4 separate regions of the Homo sapiens genome follow, and regions 1, 2 and 4 are each linked to region 3. Evidence: promoter capture Hi-C in 16 types of primary human blood cells and fetal thymus (Javierre and others, 2016). All regions are on one chromosome and are shown on one strand. The core of a region is centred on a gene start or on the middle of the fragment in contact, and the rest is flanking DNA. Distances in the headings are between cores, read along the strand shown. Region 1 overlaps EXT1 (exostosin glycosyltransferase 1). Region 2 has its middle 32 kb from the start of EXT1. Region 3 holds the start of MED30 (mediator complex subunit 30). Region 4 overlaps EXT1 (exostosin glycosyltransferase 1).

What was found. Contacts are between HindIII fragments. The CHiCAGO score rates a contact against its expected background, and 5 or more counts as called.
Region 1: a contact is called between a fragment that was not itself captured here and the fragment with the promoter of MED30 in region 3, in 7 of 17 cell types (non-activated CD4 T cells, total CD4 T cells, naive CD4 T cells and 4 more). The highest score is 8.9, in non-activated CD4 T cells.
Region 2: a contact is called between a fragment that was not itself captured here and the fragment with the promoter of MED30 in region 3, in 1 of 17 cell types (monocytes). The highest score is 8.3, in monocytes.
Region 4: a contact is called between a fragment that was not itself captured here and the fragment with the promoter of MED30 in region 3, in 1 of 17 cell types (monocytes). The highest score is 10.5, in monocytes.

The regions. Positions count from the first base shown.
Region 1 is chr8:118,080,762-118,086,645 of GRCh38, reverse strand. All of the region lies in intron 1 of EXT1 (exostosin glycosyltransferase 1), which reads left to right. Among named protein-coding and RNA genes, the nearest start is that of EXT1, 28 kb to the left of the region's middle. The HindIII fragment of the contact is 6,417 bases long and covers 853-5,884 here.
Region 2 is chr8:118,140,450-118,146,656 of GRCh38, reverse strand. It overlaps a transcript of SAMD12 not described here. Among named protein-coding and RNA genes, the nearest start is that of EXT1, 32 kb to the right of the region's middle. RefSeq lists a silencer at 3,753-4,047. The HindIII fragment of the contact is 3,293 bases long and covers 1,827-5,119 here.
Region 3 is chr8:117,519,347-117,525,829 of GRCh38, reverse strand. It overlaps MED30 (mediator complex subunit 30), which reads right to left and starts at 5,117. Exons shown (of 4, transcript NM_080651.4): 1 at 4,777-5,117. The coding sequence starts at 4,953. LOC105375716 (a long non-coding RNA gene) reads left to right here and starts at 5,110. Exons shown (of 7, transcript XR_928569.3): 1 at 5,110-5,276. It also overlaps the pseudogene RPS10P16. The HindIII fragment of the contact is 1,953 bases long and covers 3,523-5,475 here.
Region 4 is chr8:118,062,770-118,068,439 of GRCh38, reverse strand. The region is part of intron 1 of EXT1 (exostosin glycosyltransferase 1); the gene reads left to right. Among named protein-coding and RNA genes, the nearest start is that of EXT1, 46 kb to the left of the region's middle. The HindIII fragment of the contact is 484 bases long and covers 2,710-3,193 here.

The DNA.
Region 1 (5,884 bases), core at 2,812-5,311, 560 kb before region 3:
TCCCTTCATGTTGTCATCTACTAGAGAATGAACAGCTTAAAATAAGTGCATCAGTTCCTCATCCAAAGGGAAGCTGAATATTCCAATTCAAGATCACTTTGCGTGCTTACTGGAAATACCATTTTTGAACGTACTTGGCAACTTAAAGTGCCCAATTAAAAGCTCTGTTGAAAGAGGAAGTCTGTGGATGTGCAATTAGTCCTTAGGATTCAGAGCATTTCCTTTATGTGTGGAAGGCCATAATATGAAATCACTGGTCACAATAGCTTTATGCCAGGTGCTTAGACTAGAAGGCATTTTCAGGATGGATTATTTCTGTACTCTTGCTCCTAAAATGGTTTACCTAAAGAGGCTCCCAAGTCCATAAAAATACTGGTGATGTCAAGAAATTTTGGAGGTGGCCTTTCACAAATTTTAGGCAGTCAATAAATATAACTAGCCATGTACGTGATAGGCAATACACAAGACTTGCTTATATTCCTAGACTTTCTATTTTATCTGATTGACAGTGTTCCTCTTCCCACCTTTTTATTCATTTATTTATTTTTAAAAGATGAGGATTGGGTACCAGAAAATTAGCCAGTATTGTGTGCTTTTCCTTACTAAAAAAATGAGGCCTCGCTGAGTAGGGCCAGATGAGCTGTATATTCTGAGATTATTTATAGTGTTTATGATAGAGAGACCAAAAACAGTAAGCACTTAATAGCTTTCCTTATTTACAAGTCAGATTCATCTAAGGGATATTTTTCTTTTATTTTTCTGGTGCTTGAAATGTTCCTTTAAAATAGATTATCAGAGGATACACAGTGACACAAAATTTGTTGCTTGTGAAAATGCAGAGTGGATTAAGCTTTTCTTTTTCAAGGCTCTGCAACAAAACAGGTACATTTTTATTTCAGTAAAAACACTGCTTTTTTTTTTTGCCTCCGTCACACACACGAGTAACATAGGATAGATATGTGTATGTGAACATGTGGCTCTTGTTCCCAGTTGTGTAATGGATGCATTCCCTTAAAGTTTGCAGTAAAGTGAATGTTTATTAAGCAAATTGTTTTTCCCCAGTGACTTCTACTGTAAAAATGGCATTGTCTTTCAGTAGGCTCTGAATATAGTATGTTCCCATATTCTTTGGTAAGATGACCAATCAACCAAAAAAAAAAAAAAAACAAAAACAGCCCCAATAACAAACAAACAAAACAACCCTTTAGGTACCATAAATCTATAGGAAATACTAACCTTCTGATGAAGCTGGCCCGATGCCACTTATTGTTGTCCCCCACGCCTAAGCTATGGTATATGGCTTTAATAACAAAATGGCAACACACAATAGTACCACAACCTGGAGGGTGTTACTCTTTCTTCTGCTCACCCTTCCTCCCATTGTTCCCATGGGAGAGAGGACAGACACCAAGGCTGTAGCAAATAGGTTATTTTAATAACCTCAGCATCCTTGTTTCTATATGATATACATTTGATAGCCAAGTTGAATTTACCCACCTCTCTCTAAACACTTTTTCCTAACCCTTTGTCAATTTGTCACACCATCTTTGGATGAAGAGTGGTACCTGATGGTGTATGATGCTTAACAATCGAAACATCTGTACCTTGTTAGCCATAAAGGCTCATCCCATTTCCTTCCATAAACATCTATTGTAATACAATATGGATTGTGTAAGGCACTGGGCTTTAGGCCCCCAGCCCGAATATCTGTCATCTATTAAGTACTTACTGTGGATAAAGAAGGCAGTATACTTAACATGCACTATTTCATCTAATTTTTGCAAAAGCTCTTTGAGTACATTAGGCCAGTCTCCATTTTATTAATACGGATGAGGAAAGTGAGACCAAGACTTGAGTTCAATGACTTGCCCAGAGTCGTGCAAAGCATAAGGGGCGGAGTAGGATTTGAACACCGCATGAACTGGGCTCTGGAATCAAACGCTTCCCTAATGCCATGCCCTAGGTCTCAGCCTGGACTGTGCTCCCAGAGTCACTTAAGCACTTTTCAAAACACTGACATATGTGGACCCAGCATTTCGAGGAGCTGGGCTCTGGGCATTTGGGTTTTGAAGGTTTTACAAGTGACCCTGATGCTCTGTCAGGCAGGCTTAATAACGACTGAATTATATAACATGCCCAGCTTGGTTTCTTGCTTGGTTGTTGAATTGCTGCATGAAAATCTGATCCCTGCAGTCTTTGAGCCTGCAGCCCAGTGAAAGAGATGGATGTGCACACAACCAAGCATGAACAAGATGCATTATGACAAGTACTATGGTAGTACAGACTTTGTGCTCTGTGATAATTCCTATGACACGACTTGCAGTTGATCCCAGGAGGTAGCATCTGGGACATAGTCACTTTAGCAAGTCCTATTTATTCTAGCTTGGGAGAGTTCCTTGCATCTTAACTCTGTATACTCTGTGATCACCAGACAGTCTTGGTCTAGGTTATTATAAAAGTCCTAGTTGAGGATCTTGAATCTCTCCCATTCAGTTTGACTGAGAGAGCTTGGTGATTAGATCAGTGGTTTGTATATTACCTCATTTGTCTTCCAAACTAATAGATAAGTTCCTCAGGATCCACTCCAGTGGGATTACTAGGTCAAAGATAAATCATTACCAGACTGGTTGATGGTATCACCCAGGCTGGTGTGCAGTGGCATGATCTTGGCTCACTACAGCCTCTGCCTCCCGGGTTCAAGCAATTCTCCTGCCTCAGCCTTCGGAGTAGCTGGGATTACAGGTGTCCACCACCACACCTGGCTAATTTTTTATATTTTTGGTAGAGATGGGGTTTCACCATGTTGGCCAGGCTGGTCTCGAACTCCTGACCCCAAGTGATCTGCTCGTCTTGGCCTCCCAAAATGCTGGGATTACAGGCATGAGCTACTGCGCCCCGCCTCCCTCTTTTCTTATTGAGACCCATTGACCAATAGCTTGGTCAATAGTGCTTGATTCTTGAGTTTAGAAAACTTCTATTGAGCTTCTTACTATGTCCTGGGGACTGTGCTGGGCAGTAAGAACACCAGAAAGGGTGTGGCGTCTTAGGAGCCTATTAAACTAGATTAGGAAGAGAGGTGTTGAGGTGTCACCTAGGGCATAGGCAGAGAACCTGTCTGCCTAATGATACTGGGTTTAGTTCTTGAATTCTTTATATTCAGAATATGGATTAGGGCCAGGCTGGCCTTGACAACCTGAATCATTAAACACTTATGGTGACTGGTGGGTGATTAGCCACATAAGAAGAAGATATATTCATAACAGATATAATAGGAGCAATGGGGACTCGATGGAGAGTATTAAATAGTACAGTGTCTTCCATAAATGTTCTTTAATTGTGGAGATTACTGTTCTGTAGATTATTCACTCAGGCATTGAGTATGCGTTTATTAAGTGCTTTTTGTGTCCTAGGCTCATTCACAAGTCTAAACTTCAAATTTGGTTCTTAAATTCCTCAAGACCAGAGTTTAGCTAAAAGTATCATTATATCCTGAGATGGAATTTTATCAAATTGTATGCTTAAAATGAGGAGATATGTCTGTTTCTCCATCTCGCAAGCCCCACCAGTTTAACTGTCAATTGGTCTTGTCAATCAACTATAAGAGGTGTAAAAATGTCTTGGGCTATAAGTACATACTCCAGGGCGTATCCTGGTGACAGAGATTGAGAAACTGATTGGAAGAGAGTGTAATCAGTAGTGCTGGCCTTACTGTTCTGAAATTTCTGGTTTCTTTCCCTCGCTCCAAACTTAATTCTTTCTTCTCTATTTTCAATTTCAGAAGAAATTTAGAATGAGTGAGGGAAATTAAAATGAAGTCCAGAAGACCAGCAGAGATTTCACCGGGCATGTGGGTAGGAAAGACGTGTGAGAAAACCATTTGAAATGGAATTAAAAGAAAACGTGTTCAGCTCACTATATAATTATAGTTAGCTTGGCCTGGTGTTTTGGGTTGCATTACCTGTAAGTTTGGAACTCATTTGTTGTATAGAAATTGATACCCCACATTTACTTAAATTTTGCCCATCTGTTTCTTGTTAAAAGAAACTGGACATCTGCTAAAATATCCTTGTTTTGGATTACTCAATCTTATTGTCACCTTATAATGGTTTTATTTTGGGGGAGGTTTATTCGTATTAGTATGATGGGGAAAGAACAGAAAGATCTTATTGGAAAATAAATTTAGAATTTTCCAAATAATAAAATCAAAAGATTTCCAGCCGTAATCTTAAGATGCCTTTTCATGATGTCTAGTTTTAGAAACTTTTTTTCCTCTCAGATGTGAAGAACAATGCTTTTTAGGACAATAGTGAAACTTACATGAGAATTGTTCTTTTTGCATTGTGTTATGGTGCATGATGCGAAAGTTTAGAAATAAATATATCCCTGGATACAACAGGCCTCAGTTAAGACTTCAGCTATTTTTAATGCATTTTGTTATTTTTGGCCTGGCATAGTATCTTAGGATGAGAAAATCCATCCCCTTCCCCTAGTCTGAGGTCACATGTTGCCATCAGTTCTCTGTAATGGAGTCAATGATGTTATGGTTTTAAAATAACGGGAAATTAACATTTCTTGTCCCCATGATTGTGGCCGCAGGACTTGATCGTTTTTATACTGTTAATCACACTCCTCTTTTACAAGAACTCCCCGACTCTTGTTTCCCCCAGCAGTTAAATGCCATATTTTCATATATTTACCTTATATCTGGCTAAAACCTTGCAATTTTTTGTTTTGCTCTCGGTTTTTGTGACAATTTTAAGAGGAAGGCAAATAATGTACAGACTGGGTTGAAAGAGGAGAAAATGGAGCAGTTGTAATTCCCCGGGGCAGGGTAAGAGACTGTTAATACATTAGTGGTAGGAGGGCTTCTGCAGAAAATACGACTGCACAATTAAATGGGGCTATTAAAAGCACGCCAGCATCAATTCATTAAATGACAGTGGCAATTTCTTTGTAATCCCCTTTTCCCCATCTCCTCCTGGGACTCAGTATATGCAGGGATGAAAGGCAGATGGGCAAAGATCAGAAAGACTACTGAGGAAGAGGTACAGTTATTTAGATATCTGCTTCCTCATCTTCTTTGGGGGCAGCTTCTGTGATGAAAACACTTTATGAAAGGTAAGACCCCCAAATACCTGTTCTGTAGACATTGGGGATGAAAATGTACATCCTAGCAGATGATCTGGTTCTGCATTCCAGAACACTGCTCTGACTTTAGAAGCAGTTATCTATGCATAGTATATCTACTTGGAGCTAAAACAAAGAGAGAAATTGTTTGATTGAAACCTTCTTATTGCAAAAGTATGCAGAATTGACATTCAGCAATCTTATGTAAAAATACTGCAAAATGTTTCTTTTTCTGGAAAACAGTGTATTTTAAAAATCAGTTGGAATCTGGTTACCTGCATGACCTAGTGAGAACTTCAAGGCTTGGGGAAATGGTTGAGGTTAGTGGTTATGAGTATTTGATATCCTTTTGCGTGTCATTTAATTGTCTAAGCCCCCATTTCCTCATCGGTAAAATGGTGATTCTGGTATCTGTCTTTTTAGTGCTGCTCTGTAAAATTAAATGAGATACTGAATGAAAAGCATTTTGCTCAGTGCCTGGCATAAGATAAGTGCTCCCTAAATATTAACTAGTTTTATTATCCATTGAATTTTAGGACTCCACCCTCCCCCCTAGCCCTCCAAAAGAGTTAATGGTCTTATCTGCCTGCTGAAGAGTAGGGTTATGAGGAAGCTGAGACATGGAGAGATGATGTGTTAATTAGTGAAGAAACCAGAATGGGAACCACATTTTATGACTTCCCACTGCATTGAAGTGCCTCTCATAGTATGAGACTTCTGTATTTAGTAAAGGAGGGCCAACACTTGCTCCACCTAT
Region 2 (6,207 bases), core at 2,224-4,723, 620 kb before region 3:
TTGTGATTTCTCTCCTACCGGGAGATGGACTGTGTAACCTTGAATAAAAATAGTGGACAAACGAGCAATGGGTGATAATGAATGTTATTCTTCCTCATAGGCAACATAGCTGTGTTTTCCTATGGATCACTAGTATCTAAACACAGAGAATTGGAATATGGGGTCTTCAGGATGCTCTACAAAGTCTAATGGGGAAAAATTGTTGGTATTTGTGTGTTCAAATCTACAGGCCATATTGTATGTGGTTATGCTGCCTGAATTTCTTAATGGGGTGGACAAGGCCCTCCGTTCTTTACCCCCATGTACTTCTCCAGCTTTGTCTCTTGCTATCACCTCCCTGCAATGTGATACTAAAATCATACAGCAGGTCTTGCTATGTTCTCAAATGTGCCATGCTTTCTCTCCCACAATGCTTTGTACATCATGTTCTCCTGCCTTGAACACTCTCTGCCTACCCCTGCCTCCTTCATTTGGCTAACTCCTACTTATAATCCAGGCATCCTCTTAAACCCTACATCTTCCTGGAAGTTTTCCTGTACCGAAGTCGGAGTTTGGTGCTCCATGGTTAAGCTCCCATGGCACCTTGTCATTACCCTTACTGGACCTAAATTGCCTGTTTATTGGCCTTCATCCTGATCACACTATGTGGCAGCCATGGGGTTGCATCGCTTTGATCTCCCTTCAAGAAAGAACTGGCTATTTAGCTGCAAGGAGTGCAGTTAGCTGACAGCCTCCAGCTGTTAATGCCTTCAAGCTCTGCCTCAGCTTTCAAGCTGAGGCCACGATCTTTTTGGGCAGCCCCAGACAATGACCGAGTATAACAGTGGCACCAGGGCCAACTCAGGACTCCTTTAGCAGGAAATCTTTGGGTCAGCTAAGACTTCATCAGATCTGCATTGTAGTCTGAGGCTCTCTCTTCCTCATCCTGCCTCCTCCCTCTTTCCTTTGACAGATGTCATATCTGCTTTTTGGCATAAAGGATTCCCTTGTCCAATCCCGCTTCCTCACCCTTTCACGTTCACGGCTTACTCTCCAATAAGCCTCCTGAAATCCTTACTTTGTCACCTACATCTGCTTTCTGGAGAATCTGGATAACATAGACAATGAGCCCTTTAAAAGTAGGGACTACATTCTTATTCAAATTTTACCTCCAGCTCCCAGAACAACACACAGTAGGATCTCAATAAACACCTATGAAAGGATTGAATGAATGAATGAACACTCAAGATAGTGTTCAACATTGAATGATGTTTTGATCTTATATAATTCACAGGTGCTGGTCAACATTCAAGAACATTCTGATTTGAAGACTCAGATTTATTTATAAAATGCACTTCAAGAATGACATAATTGAGCATTTTTCAAGTGAGTATTTTCCAATGGTTGGATTTATGCCAAATATATAATTTACCCCTTAGGATAATCCCATGGGCTAATGTAGTTTAGCATGAGTCATAATAGATATTTGTACTTGAAATTACACAGCAGCTATAAAACTGTTATTTACTATCAAAATAGCAAATTTTAAATATTACTGCTTATGCCTGGAAATCTCATCTAAATGTTGTTTTATAGAATAAAATCCAAAAGCATTAAAAGCCTTTCAAAATCTAGACTCTATTTATTTGGCACTTGCCACATTATTGTGTGTGTGAAATATCTAGCTAGCTAACTTCCCCACTAGATTGCAAACTCCTTGAGGCAAGCAAACCATGCACTTCTCTGAATCTTATTGCTCTCTCTTTAACCTAACCCTGGCATCTAACTAGGGCTGTGTTGCATTGGAGACTATATGGATTTTTAGTACCTCAGTTGAAATAAAAGCTTTATCACTTGCTAATTGTGGCCTTCAGCTTTCTAAAACGCATCCTCGTTTTTCTCACCTTTAACCCAATCTCAGAATTTCTAGTGAGAGTTAGAGATATTTTCTTCCCTTCTTTTCCCTTATCTTCTTTTCCCTCTCTCTCTCCCTTTTCCCACCTTCCTTGCTTTTGTTCTTTCTTCCCTCTTTCTTTCCCCTCCCCTTTTTCCTCCCTTCCTTGCACCAATTTTTAAATTAATTTTATTAATAAAAATGTTATTAATTCAATAAAATTAAAACTCATTTTCATCAATAAATTAATATGTAATAAGAAATTAATAAATTTTTATTTACCTACCAAATATCATTAAATGTCTACTATGTCCCAGGCACTGTGCTAGGTGCTTTGGGAGCAGCAGTGAGTGAAACAGACAAGGCTTATGGCCCCCATGAACTCTCTCAGTGGGGATGAGGGTTGTCAAAAATAATTACCCAAATAATGAATATGTGCAATAATAGAAGTGGGAGAGTGGCTAAAAAATAATGCCCCCAAAGAATATTCATGTCAAACATTGGAGCTTGTGATGTGATTTTATTTGGGAAAAGTCTTCGAAGATGTAATTAAAGATCTTGAGATGAAGAGACAATTGTGGCTTATCTGGGCAGGGCCTAAATGCTGTCCAGAGATCCTCGCCCGAATCCTTATAAGACACACAGAGGAGAAAACACACGGAAGGGGAGGAGGCAACATGACCACGGAGGCAGAAACTGGAGAGATGCAGCCACACCAAGGAATGCCTGGAGCTACCAGAAGCTGGAAGAGGGGAGGAAGGATTCTCTCCCAGAACTTTAGGAGGGAACACAGCCCCGCCAACACCTTTACTTTGGATTTCTGGTCTTCAGAACTGCAATAAAATATATTTCTGTTGTTTTGAGCTAGCAAGTTTGTGATAATTTGTTATAGCAGCCACAAGAAACTAACACAAGGGAGTAAATAAACAAGGATCTGGGGGTCTGGGAAATGACTGTGCGTAGACCTCAGTCCTCTCCGTGTTTTCGTGCTTTCCATATTCTATGGCATGTTAGGATATTGTCTCATTTTCTGGACTCTACATTTTTTCTTCTCTGATTGATATACTCTCACTTTGCCCGTGCCTAGAAAGTTGGAGATTAATTCCCACAGGTTTAATTTTAACCCCTCTTGCTGTGGATTCTCTGCAGTCTATGCTTCACATTCTTGGAAGAACACCACTGAGCTCTATCAGTCTGGGTATTTATAATGACAGATAGAGAACGGCTTCAAAGGCATGCTTGCAACTCCCTAACATGCTTTTACACTTTACTGTGATGTGGCGCAAAGTACACAGGTAGATGCCATGAGTTCTGCATTTCAGTTCAGCTTTTGACACTAATTGAGTGCATGATCTTTGACAAGTCACTTAGGGTATTTATGCCTCAATTTCTTCATGTGAAATTAGGGTTTATCTGGCTTCAAAAATAACCATAATTCCTTAGTGAATTTTTTTTACATTTGTGCAAAAACATTTATGTAAATTGACTTGGGGTCCTATATAACTAATTCTATAAGTAATTCTGCAGTACACATTATCTAAAAGGAGGAGAATCTATACTCTTAGATATACTGTGCCCCTCTTGGTTTTGCACAAATGATTCTCCATAAATCAGATGTACAGGTAATCAAAAGTCTTGACTGTGTCCCCAGAAATCACAACTCAGAAGTCAACCTTTAGGAATCCCTTTAAAAAAAAAGTTGTGTTTTATGATGGAATTTCCCTTGGTGAGCTTAAACAAGTAGTATAAGCTAAGTTACTCAACCAGAAGAGGTTTACCATCATACTTCCTTGATGTGTTTCGTAATAAACAGGCCCTGGCCGGTGCCTGTGGTTTATTCACTATTATTATTATTCATTATTCTAACACATCTCTGGGTCTGTGCTCTAGGCAAACCAAGTCTAAACACATCCCTTCCCTCACTCTTCTTCCTCACCGCCATTAGCTCTATGACACAGGATAGTATTAGTCACTTATATAAACTAGTAGATATTCATCTATTAGCCCACTCCTTTGCTTGGCACTGCAGAGATCAGAAATGTGTGACACATGAATGGCTTTTGACATCAAAGAACTTATCTGAGCAAAGATAGCCAAGGATTCATGTCAGCAGCATATTGTGAGGGCCAATGTAGGAGTACTTGAATTTGTTATAGAAGCAGATAGCAGGAAGCAAATACTCTGGTCTGCTAGACTGGAAGTTAGCCCGTTGATCTGAGGTTTCCAGTTCACCACCGTGTTCCCAATGCCGAAGACAGTTTCTGCAGTAAAGCAAGCATTCGATAGATATGAATTGAATGGTTAAATGTTTGGTCTGAACTTGGTAGGGATGGACAGGAGAAGGTTCCCAGAAGAAGAGAAACCTGAGTTAGGGTTTGAAGAATTGAGAGACATTAGGTGATAGAAGGCAAGAGGGAACTTCTAGAGATGCTATAAGCCAAGTTGCAGAAATAGACTTTTCGTAGAGGTAAAGGGGGAATGTGGGTGCTAGATTAATGCTGAGATTGATTCTTAAAAGGTTAATGTCATTTCGGTTTATGGCTTACACATTGTTGAATAGTGAGAGTCTGCTTCTAACATTTGTTAATTTTGGCACTGGAAACAAGAGGTTCAAGGACCTGGGAGAGATGCACAGCCTCCCTCTGAGGCCTTGGAACAACTTTTCTAATCAGGTGCCAAAGTCTCTACGTGGCTCTAAAACCTCCAGCTATGTAGTGAGAATCTCTAGTTGGGGCCACAAAATTTGCGTGGTTATTAGCTACTGAGCCTAGAAGGTATCATTTCATGTTACTATGAACTGGGTCTACAATCCTAGAACATATGCCTTTGATAACTGTCCCAGGGAGAGGCCATCTTCCAAAATTTTCTAGAAACTATCACAGGGGATGGCCAGGACTAAGGTGGGACCCTAGCCCTTCCTAGCCCTCTGTTATTCTTCTCTCTGCATTTGGTTCTGAAGATTTAAATGTCCAAATCTGGTCTTGCTTCTTTGCTTACTTCCTGGCAATTGCCATGGAGTCAGGTGGCACAGCAAAAGGTAAATTAAATAGAAAGATGCTCTGTTTAAGATCTATGTGGCTTCTATTACTCACTGAGTCAGAACTAACAATTTTACTCTTTACATCAAAACTATTCACCAGAGTTATTTGGCCTACCCCATTTCTCCCTCCTTAACCTACACCTCAATTTCTATACTGGTATGTTTTCATCATGGAAAGTCAAATATCAGACTGTTAGCAGGAAGCTTGGTGTATGGGGCATTGGCTCAAGACAGCAGACCTTGGCTTCAGATTTGATTCTGTTATTTATCAGCAATGTGGATCTCCCCTGACCAAGCTTCATTTTCCACCAGGGTAAAATGAGAGCAATCATACCTCACATATCATCCTCACAAACTTATTGATAAACTTCTAATGAGACCATGCATTTCTAACAGGCTTTGTAAATGTGAAGCACATAAACATGTAAGGAACAATTATTCTTATTTTTTGCATCTTCTCTACACATATGGCAGTCTCAAATTAGTTAGTACTTCTGTTACATTGAACAAAGGGCTACTGAACTCTGAAGACTTTCGTAAAAGCTGAGCCAGAAAAGTGTTGACAATGTCCTTTGAATTTCATATCTCTTAGAATTTGCTTCTGTAGCTGCTTATCTTTTTGCCAGTTCCTAAATATTCTTGCTCTTGTGACTAACACTCTGGAGTACTCAATAAATGTCAGTTGAATTAATATATGAATAATGCAGTGTTTATTAGTTAAGATAGTCTAAGCTATGCTGCAATGACAGATAAACCCTGAAATCTCAGTGACTCAGCCCAACAAAACTTTATCTCTTATTCATGTAAAACCTGATGCAGGCCATGGGACAGGGGTAGGCTCCTAATGACTCAGAGGGCCAGGGTTCTTCTGTATTATGAATCAAGGCAATGGTTTCCCAAGTTGCTTCAGGGAAGGAAAAGAAAGATGGAGAAAGCTCTAGGCTTTTAATTATCATGGCCTACAAGTGTCATTTCCACTCACTAATTGGCCAGAATTAATTGTACAGCCCAACCAAACTGCAAAAGAGGCTAGAAAATGTAGAAGAGCAAATGAAATAGTTGTGGAGTGCCAGTTTCTCTGAAACACGATGCCCTCCACCTCAATAAGAGTCATTGTCTCTTACCCCCAATACAGATTGCAGGGAAATATAACAATACATAAGACAGACAAAGGCCAGGTGCAGTGGCTCACACCTATAATCTCAGCACTTTGGGAGACTGAGGTAGGAGGATTGCTGGTGTCCAGGAGTTTGAGGCCAGCCTGAGCAACATAGCAAGATCCTATCTCTACAAA
Region 3 (6,483 bases), core at 3,868-6,367:
GACAAATTAAAAGAATGTTTTGCATTAATACATAAAAGATAGGCAGCTACGTGGAATAGAATAGAACATCCAGAAACAAATTCACTTATATAAAAGCTACCTGAAATCACTGGAAGAAGCAAGTGAATTATTCAGTGAACCTTTTGAAAAAGTTAAGGCTAGGCCCAGACCTCACATTTTATAGGATAAATTCCATAAGGATCACAGTTTTAAATGTAAAGGCTGAAATTTTAAAAATTATAGAATTCTTCCTAATTTGAGTGGGGAAGACCTTTCTAACTAGGCATAAGGCCTAGAAGTCCTAAAAGACTAATACATTCAACTACTTAAAAAAAATGCATGGCAAAACTACCATTAGCAGAGCCAAAAGGTAAAAGACAGGGAAAAAAATAACTTTAAGTTGTATCACACAGAGCAGGTTTCTCTAGTATGTAAATAGCTAAATCCTACAATTAAGGTAGGTAAAAAAGATGAAAAAAAAAAAAAGACAGACAAATGGGTGAATAATAAGTGAACAAGCATTTAGCAGGAAAAAAATATAAATAATTAAAATATTTTAAGAGATGTTCAAACTCAGTCAAACTAGGAGAAATGTAAAGTAGAATTTTCACCTATCAAGTGATCAAAGATCCAAAAAAGCTATAACTCACTGTGCTGGTCTTAGGCCGTAGCATAAATTAGTTCAATCTCTGTGGAGGACAATTCATCAAAATGTATCTAATTACAAAAGCACATAGCTATTTCTAAAAACGTATCCGACAGGTATACGTGCAAATTTGTGTAGGAGGTTATTTGGTGCAGCCTAACAGGGAAAGATGAAAAACAGCCAAATGCCCTCACTAGAGAACTGGTTTAATAAATTACAGTATTTCCATGCAGTGTAAACTATACACTATAAAAAGGATAAGGGAGTATTTTCTGTATGGGTATGAATAAATTCCAAAATATATCAACTGAAAAAAGCAAGGTACAAAATGGTTGTGTATAATATACTATTATCTGTGCAAAAAAGGCGAAAATGAAACAATATACATAAACATTTGCTTAATATGCAGAGAATATCTGGAAAGATACACAAAAATAGTAAGAATCAGTCACAATCACTGCCTGTGGAGAGGAGTTAGGTACATAGTATAAGAGATAGGAATGGGAAGGAAAATGTTCACTGCACTGTCCTTTTTTATTCCTAAATTCTGAATGTACTATGTATTTTAAAAATTAAAGATTCAAAGAATAATAAACAGAACAAAAGCAATGGTATCTTCCACAAGGACTCTTAATCTGAGATTTAAGGATACTTGGGGAGTATCCCTAAATCTTCCTTTAACCCCTGAAATTTTCAAAATGTATGTGTATTTTTCTCAGAAGAGAGCTCACAGTTTTCATCAGACTCTCAAGTGGCTAACGGACATCTAGTGTATACCAGGAACCACTTCTTTAAAACAAATGCTTAGAAAAATTCTTAGCAGTTTGTATTCACAGCACTTTACTCTCGTAGATCAATAATACAGACGATTACTTTAAAATGTGAATACTAAAAATGTATTAACAAATCACTAGGTTATATATAGTTAAGAATATCCTATTTCTATCACCTCTTCTAGTTTTTTTGGAAATGAAGGAGCCCATTGTTATCTTTTCAGCCAATTATGATAGGCCCCAAAGGGTCCTGGATGAGTGATCACAGATTTCACAAAATGAAAAGCACACATATAATTATCATAGTCCCTCAAAAGCTGGCTTTGGGTCCCAGACCCTACAGTGGCCGAAATGTTGAAGCTTAAGAAGAAACGTATTGCCATTTATGAACTCCTTTTTCTTGAGACAGAGTCTCGCTCTGTCGCCCAGCCTGGAGTGCAGTGGCGCGATCTCTCGGCTCACTGCCACCTCCGCCTCCCGGGTTCAAGCGATTCTCCTGCCCCAGCCTCCCGAGTAGCTGGGATTACAGGCGCCCGCCACCACGCCCGGCTAATTTTTGTATTTTTAGTAGAGATGGGGTTTCACCATGTTGGCTAGGCTGGTCTCGAATTCCTGACCTCGTGATCCGCCCACCTCGGCCTCTCAAAGTGCTGGGATTACAGGCGTGAGCCACCGCGCCTAGCCTATGAACTCCTTTTTAAGGAGGGAATCATGGTGGCCAAGGAGGATTCCACATGCCTAAGCACCCGGAGCTGGCAGACAAGAATGTGTCCAACCTTCATGTCATGAAGGCCATGCAGTTTCTCAAGTCCTGAGGCTACGTGAAGGAACAGTTTGCCTGGAGACATTTCTACTGGTACCTTACCAATGAGGGTATCCAGTATCTCTGTGATTACCTTCATCTGCCCCCGGAGATTGTTCCTGCCACCCTACGCCGCAGCCGTCCAGAGACTGGCAGGCCTCAGCCTAAAGGTCTGGAGGGTGAGCGACCTGCAAGACTCACAAGAGGGGAAGCCGACAGAGATACCTACAGACGGAGTGCTGTGCCCCCTGGTGCCGACAAGAAAGCCGAGACTGGGGCTGGGTCAACAACCGAATTCCAGTTTAGAGGCGGATTTGGTCGTGGACATGGTCAGCCACCTCAGTAAAATTGGAGAGGATTATTTTGCATTGAATAAACTTACAGACAAAAAAAAAAAACTTAAAAAAAAAAAAGTTGGCTTTGAATGCAGGTCCACATGTAATCTAGTTATTGATAAAATACTTTTTTTGAAAAAGTTTAGTTCTGCGTAGAACATGAACCTGTATTATATCTTTTAATAATGTACATTGACAGCAAGTTAGTATTAAAAAGAGGTTAGTAGGAAGAGCTATTAGTCGTGTGTGATGTTGGGTAATTTATTTTTTCTCTCATTAAGCCTCAGTTTCCTTTACTGTAAAATAGGGATAAAAATACTCCTTAAAACTGCTCCTATAACAGGGTACCTGACCAAGGAAAGTACTTCGTAAGTGTTAGGTATTATTCGGTGCTTTGCATATAACAGGACAAAATTTTTTTTAAAGTATGCTAAATTCTGAGACATTATTTAATCCGTACTTTATTCATTCTAGATATGAATCTATTCATTTTTTTAAATTATTGCCAAAGAATGTCATAATTTCTCCTGGATCTCCTTTGTACTATATTTCACATGGTCTTAAAAATTTCCACGAAACTGAATTACTCTTATAATCAGGACGAAAAAAAAAGTCTTGACCAGTTAAAAAAAAAAAAAGCAATAAAACACTTTTTTGGACACCCACAGAAATAAGAGCTGTAAGATTTTTGAAAACTTGGTTTCAAATTTACCCTACCACTGACTAGGTTTGGGCAAGTCACTTTATCTCTCTGAAGTACAGAATCTTCATCTGTAAAACAAAAATAATATCTACTACATGTAGTGGGTAATATAAGCAAGCATTAAAAATGGGTCAGCAAAATGGTGCTGGAACAACTGGATATCCAAATGCAAAACAATGAACTTGGATCCGTATCTGCCACTATGTATACATATTTAAAAACTCACAAAACTAAATATAGGTTGTAGACCTAAATATAAAGCTTGAAAGTACAAAACTTCTAGAAGAAAACAGAAACCCTTTGTCACCTTGGGTTAGGCAAAGATTTCTTAGGTATGACAGCAAAACCAAAATCTATAAAAGAACAAATCAGTAAGCTGGATTCCATCAAAATTTAAAATGTCTGTTCTTCAAAAGACAGTATTAAGAGAATAAAAAGGCAGGATAGACTGGGAGAAGTATTTGGAAAGCATCAAGACATAACAGGTGTTGATGAGGATGAGGAGAAACTAGAACCCTCAAACAGCAATGTTTACATTCCCACTAGCAATAATCGGGACGTAAAATGGCTCAGGCCACTTTGGAAAAGTTTCTTAAAGTATTAAACAGACATGTACTGCATGATCCAGCAATTCCACTCCTGAATCTGTCCAAGAGAAATGACACATACGTTCACACAAAAATTTGTCAGCAAAAGTTCATAGCAGCATTATTTACAACAGCCAAAAAGTGGAAACAACCCAAATGTCCATCAACAGAAGAAAAGGTAGGCAAATGGTGATACATGGATACAATGGAACATTACTCAGCAATAAAAAGGAAATTATTGATGCATTCTTAGTGAAGGATCTCAGACAAAAAAAAAAGCCCACATACTGTAGACTCCGTTTATATAAAACCCTAGCAAATGCAAATTAATTTATGATTACAGAACGCAGATCAATGGTTGCTTAGCGATGGAAGGTGGGAAGCAAAGATGTCAGAGGGGTATGAAGAAACTTTCTGGGATGATGTGTACACTATTTTGATTGTGGTGATAATTTCACAAGTATACAGACTACAGTACACATATATATCAAAACTTTAGGTGAGTGTAGTTTACTGTATATTAACTATGCCAAAAAAAGGAGGACTGTTTTTTTAAAAAAAATGTAAATTCTTCAACTCCTTGGACCTCCCCAGAAGAAATGCTGGAAAAAACATTTAAAGCAACCTAAAGAGGGAAGTGGAGTGCGACCCATCTCTGCCTTGAAAGGTGCAAGAGTTTACAGAGTAACTAAAGAGCTCGATTGAATCTAAAAAAAATTGGCTTCAATTCTGCAGAAATCTGGTCTGGAAAACATCACCTCTACAAATCCGACTTTTGGGGACACTCTTGAGTGTGAATGGGGGAGACCCTACACCTAAGGTTTGCCCAGGGCAGCCCCGATGACATCCACGGGCCCCACGTAAAGAGGAAACCAGAGGCCCTTTCCCTCCCAGCTGCATCCCCCTGGCCTCGCGCGCCCGCCTTCCTACCTGCATGTTCCTCAGGAGCTGGAAGATCTCCATGGTGCGGTACACGATGTCCTGCACTGTCTCCTGCCCGATGCGGCACAGCGACGCCGTGTTGACTTCCCGGGCGGCCTGCTGAGCCTGGGGCCCGGCGAAGGGCCCGGGCGCCATCCCCGACGCGGCCAACGGAGGGGTGGACATGGCGCGGCTGCAGCTTCAGGCCGGAAGGGGCCAGACAGCAGGTGTCAGGGGTCTGCCCGGAATTGGGAGGCTGTGGGGCCTCAGCGTTGGAACCAGCTTGAGAGACCCCCCGCGGCCCGATTTCAAAACAGCGGCCGCGACTTCCGCCCACTGTGACGTAACACGTCAGAAAACGTCATAGACACCGCCCACTCGGCGAACTGTCTCCGAGCGGAGCCGGGCTGGATTGGATTGGACCCCTGGGCGGGAAAGGACGGACGGGTTAAGTAGCCAATCACCAATTGCGCTCCAGCCAGAGGGGCGATGTTCTTGGGGAGCCTGGGGTGAGTTCCCAGAGTTCGTTTCCCAGTCTTGGCTCAGCGTTAGAACCTTCTGTGTTTAGTTCCTTGCGGAGCATTTTCTCTTAACAAGCCTGAGGTTTGTAGTATAACAGCTAAGAGACAGGTTAAAGTACTTGTTGAGTCGCATACAGGTGTAACTGGCAACCTGCGATTCGAATTCAGAAAACAAGATTCCTAAGCTTGTACGCTTCTCTGTGACATGATACGGACTCCCCGATTGCTCTTGGTCCCTGCTCAGATGTTTTATTCTTTGAGTTTTCCCAGTATCTGTAAGCAAAAAAAATGATCAACACACACACTTCTTTCTGACTCTGGCTCTTATTAGTGTCTGATTTTTTTTTCTTTTTCTTTTTGAGATGGAGTCTCGCTCTGTCACCCAGGCTGGAGTGCAGTGGCGCGACCTCGGCTCACTGCAAGCTCCGCCTCCCGGGTTCACACCATTCTCCAGCCTCGGCCTCCCGAGTAGCTGGGACTACAGGCGCCCGCCACCACGCCCGACAAATTTTTTGTATTTTTAGTAGAGACGGGGTTTCACCGTGTTAGCCGGGATGGTCTCGATCTCCTGACCTCGTGATCCGCCCGCCTCGGCCTCCCAAAGTGCTGGGATTACAGGCATAAGCCACCGCGCCCGGCCTACTGTCTGATATTTTATATAGCTTTCAGTTTGTTTACTTTCAGACTTTATCTCACCCTATCTACACACACTGCCAACTCCATGAAAACAGACTATTTTATTCACTTATTCTCAACACCTAGTGATTGGCACAAGTATCAATAAATACTTATTGAATGATTGTTGAGTGACATGATAAATGCAAGAGAAATTAAAATGTCTCTCACAATGTCTCTCACTTACTGTTCATCTCCAAAGTGGGGAAAAGTGAAGAATGTAAAATTAGTGATAGGCACAAACATTGCATTTTTTAGAAGTATCTGAATGCTCCATTGTACGGACTTTCCAGGAAATAGTTACTAAATATGTCATAGGAACCCTGGTAGAGATTTTAAACATAGTAATTCGCAGGTCTTCGGTAATTACCATTCGACAAATATTGGCTGAGCACCTATTATGTGCTGGGTGCTAGGAGTGAAGATAGCGTACTGAACAAACCAGGCAAAAGCCCTGCAGCATGTTTGTCATGGGGACAAACAGAACACTATTGTGATGAGCGTCTTGAAGCAAAAGTTC
Region 4 (5,670 bases), core at 1,702-4,201, 540 kb before region 3:
GCTTAATACCTAGGTGATGGGTTGATAGGTGCAGCAAACCACCATGGCACATGTTTACCTATGTAACAAACCTGTGCATCCCGCACAAGTACCTTGGAACCTAAAACAAACAAAAACTGGTGTGATCTCCCTGTAAGACAGGATTTTAAAAGCATGTCTACATTTTTGAGTTTTCTTTCAAGGTGCCAAGAAGAGGCTGACCACATTGTTTGAAGAATGGTTAAGAACTTGAACTTCGGAGTTTGCCAGACTTGCATTCCAGGCTCAGCTCTGGCACTGTAAGCTCTGTGGCCACACAGCTTTGCCGAACCAACCTGCTTAGCAGTAAAAATGAGAATAATAACATTTCCATTGAAAGGTGTTATGAAGATTAAATGAAAGTGTTTTTCTAAAGCTCTAGATATATAGTGGGGGCCCTTCTCAGGTAATCAGAAAGTTGTAGTTGCAGTTTTGTTACTAATATTGCAAATGCTCTGAAAATGTGCCACCATGGCTATGTCTTGTAGATGGTGACTTAAGCTTACCTTCCACAGTGGGAAAATAAATGATTTATTTCCCTTTAATAGCCATCACTCTGTTGATCCAGCCCTGCAAAGCTTACAGCATGGGGCTTATGAATCATGAATCAACACAAATGTCACCAAGCTAAAAGAGAGTTAGCAGAAGTAGCCTATGTTAAGATTAGGTTTCTGATTTAATGTGCAGTTTCTAAAAACCAAGTAGCATGTAACTGGTCTTATCCTTGCTGAGTTAAGATTGCTGGATCGTTAATTTAATAATTGAGAGAGGATAATTCTTGCAACTTCCAATTAGTATTGACTTGACCACTGCTTTGATGTAGGATGAAACCGCTTCACGTTGGTGTGATTTCCTCAGCTATGGTGTGTATAGTCTAGTTTAAAGCTAGGCTCTGTTATGTACTATGTCCATCCTGGAAAGTTCATTAGACAAGGAACAGAATAGTGGCTCTCTCAAGCAGTCAGTCATCCAGTGAATGCTATAGCACCTGCTTCCATCCAGCCCATGTATTCCTTCCCCTCATTCTTCTTTGTTACTTCACACCACATTCTTCCTTCAGCTAGTCCAAGCTATGCCTGCATAAGTAAGAACCGCAGTATAATGAACACTTGCTATGAGCCAGACACAGTGTTGGAGGTGGTATAGGTACTCCAGGAGGAAGACGTCTCCAGCCAGTTAGCTCAGGTGTGTTTGTATGGCACCAGTGCCCCAAGATGACAATATTCAAAAATGCCAGACTTCTTGAAGTTTAGACTTGAGAGTCTCCCAGTGTCATTTCTACTACATTCTTTTGGTTAAAGCAAGTTACCTGGCTAAACCTAGAGTCAGTGAGAGAGGGGATTGTTCAACAGTGTGCATTTAGGGAGAGAATTGTGGCTATGTTACAAACAATCTACCAGAGACTTACAGACGGCAGCTGTCTATTCCCCATTTGACTTCATCATTTATGAGCAGACGTTTGTTAAGCACATATTGGGTAGCAAAACATCTATAATATTAGCTTTTAATTTTTTAAAAAACTTTTATTTCCAGAAAGCTTAGCTTTATCTACAAGTACAGTTGGTCCTTGAACAATGTAGATTAGGGGGTGCTGACCCTCTGTGAAGCTGAAAAACCATGTATAATTTTTGACTCCCTGAAAACGTAACAATGAATAGCCTGTTGTTCACTGGAAGCATTGCTGATGACATAAATGGTCAACTAACACATATTTGTTTGTTCTATATATTATATGCTGTATTCTTACAATAAAGCAAGCTGGGCCTGGCGCTGTGGTTCACATGTGTAATCCCAGCAATTTACGAGGCTGAGGCGGGCAGATCACTTGAGGCCAGTTGTTCAAGACCAGCCTGGTCAACATGGTGAAACCCCATCTCTACTAAGAATACAAAAACTATTTTGGGTGTGGGTGGTGCGCACCTGTAATTCCAGTTACTCAGGAGGCTGAGGCAGGAGAATCGCTTGAACCGGGAGGCGGAGGCTACTTGAGCCGAGATCATGCCACTGCACTCCAGCTCTGGGCAACAGAGTGAGACTCTGTCTAATAAATAAATAAATAAATAAATAAATAAATAAATAAATAAATAAAGCTAGAGAAAAGAAAATGTTATTAAGAAAATAATAAGGAAGAGAAAATATATTTACTATTCATTAAGTGCAAGTGGATCATCATGAAGGGCTTCTTCCTCATTGTCTTCATGTTGAGTAGGGCTGAGGAGGAGGAAGATGAGGGGTTAGTCTTGCTGTCTTGCGGGTGACAGATGTGGAAGTAAATCCTCATGTAGGTGGGAATGAGCAGTTCAAACCTATGTTGTTCAAGGGCCAACTATAGTTGATTAACTCATATCTCTACAGTTAATTTTCAAACAGATGTGATAGCTGAATGAGAACTTTTAAGATAGTACTGGACAGTAACCTTATTGGAACTGGAATGGCCTTTAGACTTTTTGTGTCCAGTTTCTTCTCACCTCCTCTTTCTCTTCAAATGTGCAACTGAAACTGAGAGACCTCAGTCCCATGTCCAAGGTCAGGCAGATACTTAGCGGCAGAGTGAGGACTCCAGCCCATTTCTGCAGCTCTGCTGTGCAGTGGAAGATTTGGGACAAGTACATTATTTAAAAATGCCCACCCACTAAATATTACATTCCTAACTTTTCCCAATACACAAATATGCTTGAACTTTTAAAAGCTTGTTTTTGGTCGTGCTTGGTTTGGAATGTGAATGACTAAAACTACCTTTAGCAATTTCCCAAAGTGTAAGTTCAAATGTACAGAGAATTTTTTTCCTGAATGCCCAACACAATATGCAGTTTTACAACACATACCAGATTCTTAGATTCATTTGGTGAAGGAAGCCTCTGAATTAAAACTTTTAAATATTTCTGATTTGCAACCAGACGAAAAAGAAGAAAATTGACAACTTTTTTGATGCAACTTTGTGAAATCATGGTGTTCCTGGTTTTTCTGGTCTGGTTTTTGTTGTTGTTTTGTTTTGTTTTGCCACAGTTTAGTTCCTCACCTGATCTTTCCTTGTATCCACTTCAGAGTCTCTGAAATGTTATCTGTTTGTTGGTTCCTGGGAAATTGAGAGCCTTTTCAAAGACTCCATCTAGAAGCATATTTAAAAGTGTGAAAGAAGACATTTATGCGACCAACAAACATATGAAAAAAAGCTTATCATCATGGGTCATTAGAGAAATGCACAGCAGAACCACAATGAGATACCATCTCATACCAGTTAGAATGGTGATCACTAAAAAGTCAGGAAAGGCCAGGGGCGGTGACTCATGCCTGTAATCCCAGCACTTTGGGAGGCTGAGGCGGGTGGATCACCTGAGGTCAGGAGTACAAGACTAGCCTGGCCAACATAGTGAAACCCCATCTCTACTAAAAATACAAAAATTAGCTGGGTGTGGTGGCGGGCACCTGTAATCCTGGCTACTCAGGAGGCTGAGGCAGGAGAATCGCTTGAATCTGGGAGGCAGAGGTTGCAGTGAGCCGAGATTGTCCCACTGCAACTCCAGCCTGGGTGACAGACTCCATCTCAGAAAAAAAAAAAAAAAAAAAAATTCAGGAAACAACAGATGCTGAAGAAGATGTAGAGAAATACGAACACTTTTACACTGTTGGTGGGAGTGTAAATTAGTTCAACCATTGTGGAAGACAGTGTGGCGATTCTTCAAGGATCTAGAATCAAAAATACCATTTGACTCAGCAATCCCATTACTGGGTATAATCCCAAAGGATTATAAATTATTCCGCTATAAAGACACATGCACACTTATGTTTATTGCAGCACTATTCACAATAGCAAAGACTTGGAACCAACCCAGATGCCCATCAATGATAGACTGGATAAAGAAAATGTGGCACATATATACCATGGAATACTATGTAGCTATAAAAAAGGGTGAGTTCATGTACTTTGCAGGGACATGGATAAAGCTGGAAAGCATCATTCTCATCAAACTAACACAGGAACAGAAAACCAAACACTGCATGTTCTCACTCATAAGTGGGAGCTGAATAGTGAGAACACATGGACACAGGGAGGGGCACATCATACACCGGGGCCTGTCAAGGGGTGGGAGCTAGGGGAGGGATGGCATTAGGAGAAATACCTAATGTAGATGATGGGTTGATGAGCACAGCAAACCACCATGGCATGTGTATACCTATGTAACAAACCTGCACATTCTGCACATGTATCCTAGAACTTAAAGTATTAAAAAAAAGAAAAAGAAAAAAAGTGTGTAGCGACTTGACGCGGTGGCTCACGCCTGTAATCCCAGTACTTTCAGAGGCCGAGGCGGATGGATCACCTAAGGTCAGGAGTTTGAGACCAGCCTGGCCAACAGTGAAACCCCATCTCTACTAAAATACAAAAATTAGCTGGGCATGGTGGCACATGTCTATAATACCACCTACTCGGGCGGCTGAGGCAGGAGAATCGCTTGAACCAGGGAAGTTGAATTTGCAGTGAGCTGAGATTGTACCACTGCATTCCAGCCTGGGCCACAGAGCGAGACTCCGTCTCAATAAATAAATAAATAAATAAATAAGTAAATAAATAAAGTGTAGCTCTGGTCTTACTAAGTGTATGATGTTTGTCTCCATGAAATAATAATAATGTAAGATCTGAGAAGTTAATACTTAAAGTAAAACCTACAGCAAAACAGTCTGCTGAATTTGTCTGTGATCTCACAGGAGAGTCTAGTTGTAAACCGAAGCAAGGATGGTAGCTAATATCGCAGCAGTGTTTGTAAGAGGATTTTTAGTTTGTCATGCTTAAACAGACCCCTCAGTATTCTCACAGAGAACTGAAGCAATTCATTTTCAAGACTAACAAGAGCACAGCATCTGCATGCATGTGGCAGGTATGTTAGTGAATGTTGTGAAGTAGGTGGTCCCATCAGTTGTCATGGTTCACCTCTGTCCAGACTGTGATTGTGTGACTCGCAGTTGGCACTTCAGCAAAGCTTAGGAAAATGCCTCATCTTCTTTTGTGGGAGGTGGAAAAATAAGTAGCTGCTTTCAATGAACACTGCAAGCCTTGTTAAAGTCTGTACCTTTCATACAGAAACTCCTAGATGAATGGCAATGGAAAATACGGGTTTGTGATAACTTTGAATGATGTGTGATTGCCTTGATTAGCACTATAGTTACTAAGCAGATATGCACTTCTTTGTTTTAAAAGAGAACTTGAATTTTTTTTTTACTATAACTGCCAGTTGCTTAATTTCTACCACTTTGTCTATTTTTTTAAAAAATGAATTTCCACCTAATTTGTGCTTGTCAGTGATGACAAGTTTTAAAAGTAACTCAAGTTAAAAAAAAAAATTCTCCAGAAACCATCATCTGTCAAAAAGTTTGTATTTAATGTTTTCTTTCAGGTAGAAATGAGACATTTTCTCCTTCTTCTTTCCAGATTTGCACCCTTAATGTTCCAGAAAGCTGAGCATCCATATTATTTTGAGTTTAGGAATTTATAGTGACCTAGTCATAGTTATGAGGTGTTTGAGGGAAATGAAGGGAAGGATGAGTAGCAAAGACACATTAAACAGAATAAATTATATAGTCTTGTTTTTGGCAACTAGTCTAGCATGCAGTTTCCTTGCTTTGTTCAGTCCACATATAGAACAACTCTGTCTA